Linked DNA regions of Homo sapiens: region 2 is linked to region 1. Evidence: promoter capture Hi-C in 16 types of primary human blood cells and fetal thymus (Javierre and others, 2016). All regions are on one chromosome and are shown on one strand. Each heading gives the region's core, a stretch centred on a gene start or on the middle of the fragment in contact. The rest is flanking DNA. Distances are from core to core; before and after follow the strand shown. Region 1 holds the start of TAF6L (TATA-box binding protein associated factor 6 like). Region 2 has its middle 4.8 kb from the start of AHNAK.

Evidence for each region. The method cuts DNA at HindIII sites, captures the fragments that hold promoters and counts their contacts. A CHiCAGO score of 5 or more calls a contact.
Region 2: a fragment that was not itself captured here is called in contact with the fragment with the promoter of TAF6L in region 1 in 1 of 17 cell types (activated CD4 T cells); the score reaches 5.4 in activated CD4 T cells.

The regions. Positions count from the first base shown.
Region 1 is chr11:62,769,304-62,773,470 of GRCh38, forward strand. TAF6L (TATA-box binding protein associated factor 6 like) reads left to right here and starts at 2,093. Exons shown (of 11, transcript NM_006473.4): 1 at 2,093-2,187. It also overlaps a transcript of TMEM223 not described here. RefSeq lists enhancers at 331-380, 2,543-2,682 and a silencer at 1,943-2,352. The HindIII fragment of the contact is 6,431 bases long and covers 1,744-4,167 here.
Region 2 is chr11:62,549,524-62,553,690 of GRCh38, forward strand. No RefSeq gene overlaps it. Among named protein-coding and RNA genes, the nearest start is that of AHNAK, 4.8 kb to the left of the region's middle. RefSeq lists enhancers at 1,648-2,453, 2,454-3,259 and a silencer at 4,138-4,167. The HindIII fragment of the contact is 2,518 bases long and covers 824-3,341 here.

The DNA of each region.
Region 1 (4,167 bases), core at 843-3,342:
TTGGGAGGCAGAGGCGGGTGGATCACAAGGTCAGGAGTTGGAGACCAGCCTAGCCAACATGGTGAAAACCCTGTCTCTACTAAAAACACAAAAATTAGCTGGTGGTAGTGGCAAGTGCCTGTAATCCCAGCTACTTGGGAGGTTGAGGCAGGAGAATCATTTGAACCTGGGAGGTGGAGGTTGTAGTGAGCCAAGATTGCGCCACTGCACTCCAGCCTGGGCAACAGGGTGTTACTCCGTCTCAAAAAAAGGAAAAAAGAAAAAAAGTCTGACACCAAAGCCATCATAGTTCTTGCCAGGCATTGGGTGTGTGGAGCGAGCCACCTTTCTCCCATCTGTGGCCATGGAGGTCTCACTACTGCCTTCCCTGGTTCCTGCCTCCACTCAGATTGGGAGCAAATGAGCTCCAGACAGGTTGGATACAGGTTCACTACATCTAATAGGTCCCGGGCAGTCCCGGTCTCCCTCCCATCTTCTAGTGTCTCCAAGGTTGCTGATGGCTGTCCAGAACAGTAAACCTAAGCAAGGAGGTCAGCCAGCTGCCCAGGTCTGGCTAAGCTGACTTCAGGCTCAGTCAGACCTTAGAGGAGAGCGCCCTCTCTCTTTCCCTTAACGCACAGGTGGGCAGACACTTGAAACCACTTCTAATATGGTTCTGAATATGAGTGGAAGAGACTCAGCAGGGTCACATTCTCCTTAGGTGGGGTTGCCATGGCAACCACAGTCGCATCCATCTGGCTTTGCCAGCTCGGGTCCCAGGGGATTTTCTTTTCCAGCGGCAGCAGCATCTAACCCTGAGAGGGGGAAAGAGAAAAAATGTGTACATTCATGCTCCCTTGCAGAATGTTCCCACAGTTCACTCAGTGCAAACTACCCCATCTTGGGTGAACTTAAAGGAATTCACTGTATGCCTTGTGACATGTGAGGGAAAGAAAGTTTCTCTCTTTTTTTTTTGAGACGGAGATTCACTCTTGTTGGCCAGGTTGGAGTGCAGTGGCGCGATCTCGGCTCACCACAACCTCCGCCTCCCGGGTTCAAGCAATTCTCCTGCCTCAGCCTCCCGAGTAGCTGCGATTACAGGCATGTGCCAACACACCCGGCTAATTTTGTATTTTTAGTTGAGATGGATTTTTCTCCATGTTGATCAGGCTGGTCTTGAACTCCCGACCCCAGGTGATCCCCCGCCTCGGCCTCTCAAAATGTTGGGATTACAGGCGTGAGCCACCGCGCCCGGCCGGGAAAGAAGTTTAACCTCCAACTCTGCCAGGGACTCTCACAGACATTAATTTACAACAACCCTGTGAAGTGCGCATTATTACTCCATATTAGGTAATTTGCCCAAAGGCAGTGTCAGAATTTTAACCCAGGTCGGTCTGATTCCAAATACCATCCTTTACTCACTAAGCCCACTGCTTATCAATTAAGAACTGCCCAAGTAGCTGCTATTGCAGTGGGAGTTGGAGAAAGAGAGCTGTCAGTGTGCGTGTCCAACGGTCATGCAAGGCGAGGTAGGCCAGGGCTTGTATTTGGTTCACAGGCGTGGGGAGAATGCGAAGTAGGTGCAGAAAGAGCAGAACCCTGGAGTCCGGAGCTTGCACGGGATGTTCGGCCGGGTCAGAAGTCCCTTCTGCCTGCCGAGAACACCTACCGAGAGCCCCATCTATCCCTTCAGGAAGGGGAAGTGGCATGTGATGTTGGGGAGGTAGGCCGGGCAGGAAAACTAAGCCAGACACCAAAATCTAAAGCTTTGCTGCAGTCGCGAAAATGCGGGTGCTCAGAAACTCGCGAGCAAACAAGACAAAGAAAATCAAGACGCTGTCTTTGAGACTGTTTATTTCCTCGTTACTATTGTGGTGGTAAAAAAAATAAAATATGCTTATTAAACGTGTGTTAAAACAATACACACCTACTCGCAAACGTAGCAAGAGAGGTTGCTTTAAGAAGCGGGAATCTTCAGCGTCACGTGACCGCCGGTCTCTACAGTCTGTTCACACTGGCCAATCAAGAGCCAGGAAGCCTCCTGGAGGGCCGGAAACTTTCCAAGGCGCCCGCCGACTGGCTGTATTGGGGAGGGCGGGGCCGGGGCCCCGGGAGAGGGAATGAGTGTGAGCTCGTGAGTGGGCGCCGCCGCCACCGCCCCCGCCGCCGTCGTCTCGGTAGCAGCCTTCGCCACGCCGGGGTCTTCAGGTGAGCAGGCCTTGCTCTGGTCCAAGGACTCCCCATTCCCGACGCCGACTGCTTACTCACCAGTCTTGGAGCCCGCACCGCGAGGGCCCGCCCCCTTGGCTGACCACGTGACCCAAGTTCAGTGACCCCTGACCTCCTCCCCCCGCGCACCCCCTCCCCGATCTGGGCTGGGCTAGGCCGGGTGGGAGGATGCGCGTTGCCGAGGCCCGGCCCGCGGAGGTCAGTTCCCACGCCTCCTCTCCAGCGTGACTAGTGGCTGAGGATGCGGAGGAGAGGAGGCTGAGGAGCGGGAGACTTTGGTCACAGTCTAGATTTCGTGTACGGTCATATAATAGGGAAACTCCCTCCGTGCCTTTCGCGCTGGTGGACTAAATGCTCCCATTTTACAGATAGGGAAACTGCAGCTTCACAACGATCTATTGGCGGGTCTAGGGTCACCAAGGGGTGGGTCTCCAATCCATGTCTTTGGGGTGGGATCCAGGCCTTGTTCCCCATACAGCTGGCGGCTCCTGAATGCGGTATAGAGTAAAGATTAGGAGCAAGGGGTTGAGTCCTTGCTCCCCCTCCCTACTTACTCAGTGCTTACTTCATGATCTTGGAGAAGTCATGGAACATTTAGCCTCTGAGGTTTGATTTCCTTGCCTGTGAAATAGACGAAATACATAATAATATCTTATTATTGAGAATATAGTGAAGTAATCCATATAAAGCACTTAGCTGTGTCTCAGGCATAGTACAGTGCTATTCGTGGCCGGGCGCGGTGGCTCACGCCTGTAATCCTAGCACTTTGGGAGGCCGAGGCACCTGGATTGCCTGAGCTCAGGAGTTCGAGGCCAGCCTGGGCAACACGGTGAAACCTCGTCTCTACTAAAAATACAAAAAATTAGCTGGGCATGGCGGCGTATGCCTGTAGTCCTAGCTACTCGGGAGGCTGAGGCAGGAGAATTGCTTGAACCAGGGAGGCAGAGGTTGTAGTGAGCCGAGATCACGCCACTGTACTCCAGCCTGGGTGACAGAGCGAGACTGTGTCTCCAAAAAAAAAAAAAAAGCTCGTCGGGCCAGGTGCGGTGGCTCTCACGCCTGTAATTTCAGCACTTTGGAGGCCGAGGTGGGCGGATCACCTGAGGTCAGGAGTTCCAGACCAGCTTGGCTACCATGGCGAAACTCCATCCCTACTAAAAATACAAAAATTAGCCAGGTGTGGCGGCACAGGCCTGTAATCCCAGCTACTCGGGAAGCGGAGGTTTTAGTGAGCCGAGATCAAGCCACTGCACTCCAGCCTGGGTGACAGAGTGAGACATCAGACATCATCTCCAAAAAAAAAAAAAAAGAATAGTTCTTCTTTCTTTCTTTTAGAAGATCTTTTTTTTTTGTTTGTTTTTGTTTTTTGTTTTGTGTTTTTTTTGAGACTGAGTTTAGCTCTGTCATCCAGGCTGGAGTGCAGTGGTGCAATCTCGGCTCACTGCAGCCTCTGCCTCCTGGGTTCAAGTGATTCTCCTGCCTCAGCCTCCTGGGTAATTTTTTGTATTTTTAGTAGAGACAGGGTTTCACCGTGTTAGCCAGGATGGTCTTCATCTCCTGACCTCGTGATCCACCAGCTTCGGCCTCCCAAAGTGCTGGGATTACAGGCGTGAGCCACCATGCCTGGCCTATAATTACAAATTTTTTTTTTTTTGAGATGGAGTCTTGCTCTGTCGCCCAGGCTGGAGTGCAGTGGTGCGATCTTGGCTCACTACAACCTCCACCTCCCGGGTTCAAGCAATTCTCCTGCCTCAGCCTCCGGAGTAGCTGGGACTACAGGCGCGGACCACCATGCCTAGCTAATTTTTGTATTTTTAGTAGAGACGAGGTTTCACCATATTGTCCAGGCTGGTCTAGAACTCCTGACCTTGTGATCCACCCGCCTTGGCTTCCCAAAGTGCTGGGATTACAGATGAGCCACTGCGCCCGGCCTACAATTTTTTTTTTTTTTTTGAGACG
Region 2 (4,167 bases), core at 833-3,332, 220 kb before region 1:
GTGTGCGCCTGTAGTCCCAGCTACTCGGGAGGCTGAGGCAGGAGAATCGCTTGAACCCAGGAGGTGGAGGTTGCAGCAAGCTGAGATCGTGCCACTGCACTCCAGTCTGACAACAGAGCGAGACTCTGTCTAAAAAAAAAAAAAATGATCCTGCAGGCTGGAACAGAGCTGGGGTTTCCTAAGACTGCCACCTCAGCCCAAGGGAGGGGAATATTTTCAAAAGTTTTCAGTGGTGTTAAGTGGAGAAACGCACACTTTTAGAAACTTCTGCCAACTCTTCTCCTTCTGCCCGCTGGTGTAGCCTCCCCCACACCCCCTCCCAAAACTACCTTAATATGATTGTGTCTGATCCTGCAGCAGCTACTTTCGTTGGTTTTTTTTTTGTTTTGTTTTGTTTTGTTTTGTTTTGTTTTTTGAGAGGGAGTCTCGCTCTGTTGCCAAGCCTGGACTGCAGTGGCGTGATCTTGGCTCACTGCAGTCTCCACCTCTGGGTTCAAGTGATTATCCTTCCTCAGTCTCCCAAGTAGCTGGACTACAGTCGTGTGCCACCATGCCTGGCTAATTTTTGTATTTTTTAGTAGAGATGGGGTTTCACCATGTTGGCCAGGGTGGTCTCGAACTCCTGACCTCAGGTGATCCCTGCCCACTTCAGCCTCCCAAAGCGCTGGGATTACAGGTGTGAGCCACTTTGTCAGGAGCTACTTTCATCTGTCAGCTCATTTAATCCTTGCACACCCTGGGAGGGAGGCACTTAGTGAGGAATGGTCTCAGAAAGGGTTCGTGATTTACCTAAAATCACACAACTCACAGAGGCAAGAGTCAAAGCTTCCGCTAGCATTTAAGCCTCATGAGGACAGGGTTCTTTCTTCTCTGCTGTATGCTTTGTGCCTAGATTAACTGATTTTTTGTTTTGTTTTGGTTTTTTGCTTGTTTTTTTTTGAGACAGTCTCACTCTGTCGCCCAGGATGGAGTGCAGTGGAGCATTCATGGCTCACTGCAGCCTCAACCTCTCAAGCTCAAGTGATCCTCCCACCTTAGTCTCCCAAGTAGCTGGGACTACAGACACACACCATCATGCTCAGCTAATTTTTTTTTTTTTTTTTGGTAGAGATAGGGTCTCACTATGTTGCCCAGGCTGGTCTTGAACTCCTGGGCTTGAGCAATCCTCCCACCTCAGCCTCCCAAAGTGCTGGGATTATAGGTGTGAGCCACCGCACCCTGGCCCCTCATGCCTAGAGCACTGACTGACACATAGCAATCACTCAAGAGCATGTTTCAAATGAATGAATGAACTCCAGGTATAACTGGCTCCAAAGCCCTTGCCTTTTCTACAATAGATAGCATCCTGCATCCCAGGCTGTCACAACTTCCTCTGGCTCTCAGCCCCCAGGGAGCAATTCCTCTACTTGTGGGTCTTTCTTGCAGCTACCCAAACATTTATTGTGTGTCCAATATGGGGTTGGGGAACTGTGGTGGTGGTGGAAGCAATAGAGACCTTGGCAAGATGGAATCCCAGCAAAAAGCTCAGTCCAGGCGGAAACGGCTCCGATACCCCTTTACCTTGTCCTTTGAATTCCTTGGAGGTCCTATGCCTCCAGAGAATTGGAGTTATCTTTCCTACCAGGTAATTTACACAGCTACTCCCCCGCCAGCACCCCCCCGACACACTATGTTTTGGGTGTTTTTGTTGTTTTGTTGTTGTGGTGGTGGTGGTGGTGGTTGTTTTGAGATGGAGTCTAGCTCTGTCGCCCAGGCTGGAGTGCAGTGACACGATCTTGGCTCATCTTGGCTCACTGCAACCTCTGCCTCCTGGGTTCAAACGATTCTCCTGCCTCAGCCTCCCAAGTAGCTGGGATTATAGGCACGCGCCACCACGCCTGGCTAATTTTTGTATTTTTAGTAGAGACGGAGTTTCACCATGCTAGCCAGGCTGGTCTCGAACTCCTGACCTCATGATCCGCTTGCCTCAGCCTCCCAAAGTGCTGGGATTACAAGCGTGAGCCACCACACCTGGCCTGTTTTTTGTTTGTTTTTACACACCATGTTTTATAAGGAGTATTAAGGAGTTCTTTCGGTCCCTACTTTGCAAAGAAAACCTCCATCTTCTCGAAGGTTTAGACTCCTCTGTGATATAAAGTAAAGGCTTTCCTCTTATAAGAGGGAGGTCAGCCCTGCCGCTAGTGCTCCACCACCATTCAGAGGGAGCTGGTACCACAGTGCTCCACACGCACTGCCAAAGCTGGATGAGCTCTAGGACTTGTCATCACAGGGATACCCCAGCTTCCCCAGAAGTGACACTGCCTCCCTGGGGAGTGGGGGAGGTTCCCTGATATGTACCTGTTTTGCGTGTGTGTGTATATGTCAGTTTGTGTGTGTGTGCGCGCGTCTGTAATGAACCTTGGGCTCTTCTGTTGCCAGGCAACCTGCCTCTATTTTGTTCCTATTATGCCTGTTTCCATAGTAACCACAAAGGGGAGCTCTGTGGGCAGGCCCCTGGCCAGGGGATTCCCCTTCCCCTCCCTTCTCTCCACAGTCCCCTTTTCTGAAATCAGCATGTTACAAGGAAGAAAAGAGGTTGACTGCTCAAAGGGTAATCTCAGTTTCTGATCCCAGAAGGCAAATGAAGTGTGTGGTCTGTTTGCAGTCTCTTTAGAAGCAGACTTTTCCCCCCATGAAGGTTCTTTTGCATGATATTCTTAGAAGCAGAAAAATGGGCTGTGCCTGGTGGCTCACGCCTGTAATCCCAGCACTTTGGGAGGCCAAGGCGGGTGGATCACTTGAGGTCAGCAGCTCGAGACCAGCCTGACCAACCTGGTGAAACCCCGTCTCTACAAAAAATACAAAATTAGCCGGACGTGGTGGTGCACGCCTGTAATCCCAGCTACTCGGGAGGCTGAGGCAGAAGAATTGCTTGAACCTGAGAGGCGGAGGTTACAGTGAGCCGAGATTGCGCCATTGCACTCCAGCATGGGCAAGAAGAGCAAAACTCTGTCTCAAAAAAAAAAAAAAAAAAAGCAGCAGCAGCAGCAAAGAAATGACTGTTAACCCTTCTTAGCACCATCTGGGATCTCCCAGACCCCGCCTCCACCCCATACACACACCAGCCCAGGGATTAGCATCCCTGCCAAACAGGCCCTTCTCCATTCACTTCCGTCACTTCCTAATCTGTCATTGTCCACCCCACCCCCCAAAAGCAAATCTATCTGGTGATTCTGGAATCCAAACATTATTTCCTAAGCAATTCTCAAGCCCCAAACCCTTAACCCTAGCCGAAAATATAAAGCCAAGTAAAATCATCCTTCCCCAGCTCAATTCAAATCCCAGCCTGTATTTAAACTTCAAGCTTCAAATAAGGAGTTCCTGAATTTCTTAGATCAGAGAGCTTTGATACACAGAAACTCTCCAATTACACTCAGTCCTAATGAAATCTTCAAGCCCAACCAGAACCCAAGTTAAAGCTGGTTAGAGAACAAGAGACATGAGGCTGTCTCCAGAGTACCGTCTGGGAGGAAAGAAGGCAAAGAAAGACTGTCCAGGCAGGTGGAAGGGAAAGAAATTGGGCAGGGAGAGTGGGGCAGGTGGACACGATGGGTCATGGCTGGATTTCAGGCAGAGTTAGGGGTGTGGGAATGCTGTGGGGCAATAAGAGGAGATGCAGACCTGAGATTAAGGAAAAGAAGCGACAAGACATGAGGCTGTGAAGGAAGGAGGGAGGGAGAGAGAGAAAACAGAAGAGCTCAGCACTGAGCTAAGGACTGGGCGGGCTGAGTTGTAAACAGGAGCCGAGGGAGGGAGTTGGAGTAAACGGAGCAGCCAACGCCCCAGCCAGCTCCCCTCCCCAGTGGGGAGCAGGGAGGGAGGGGCTGAGGAAGCGGGGAACACCACCTCCTCACCCCTTTCTTGGAATCTGCTTTTCTCCTGTCCTTTCCAACTTCCTCTGCCTTTCCCCCAGCTTCCTGGGGAAAGAGAGACCAGCCTGGGTTTCCCTCTCTCCTCTGCTTACAGTTCCCTAAGTCCAGTTGAAGGAGATCAGGCTGAGCAGGGAAGGAAGGGCCTAGGCTGCCCAGAGCCTGAGTCACCACATAGTTGAGGTTCCTGTCACTCGAAGTCCCGCCTCTGTTACACTCCGTGCCCTGTGCCCGCCCCAGGACTTGGATCGCTACATCT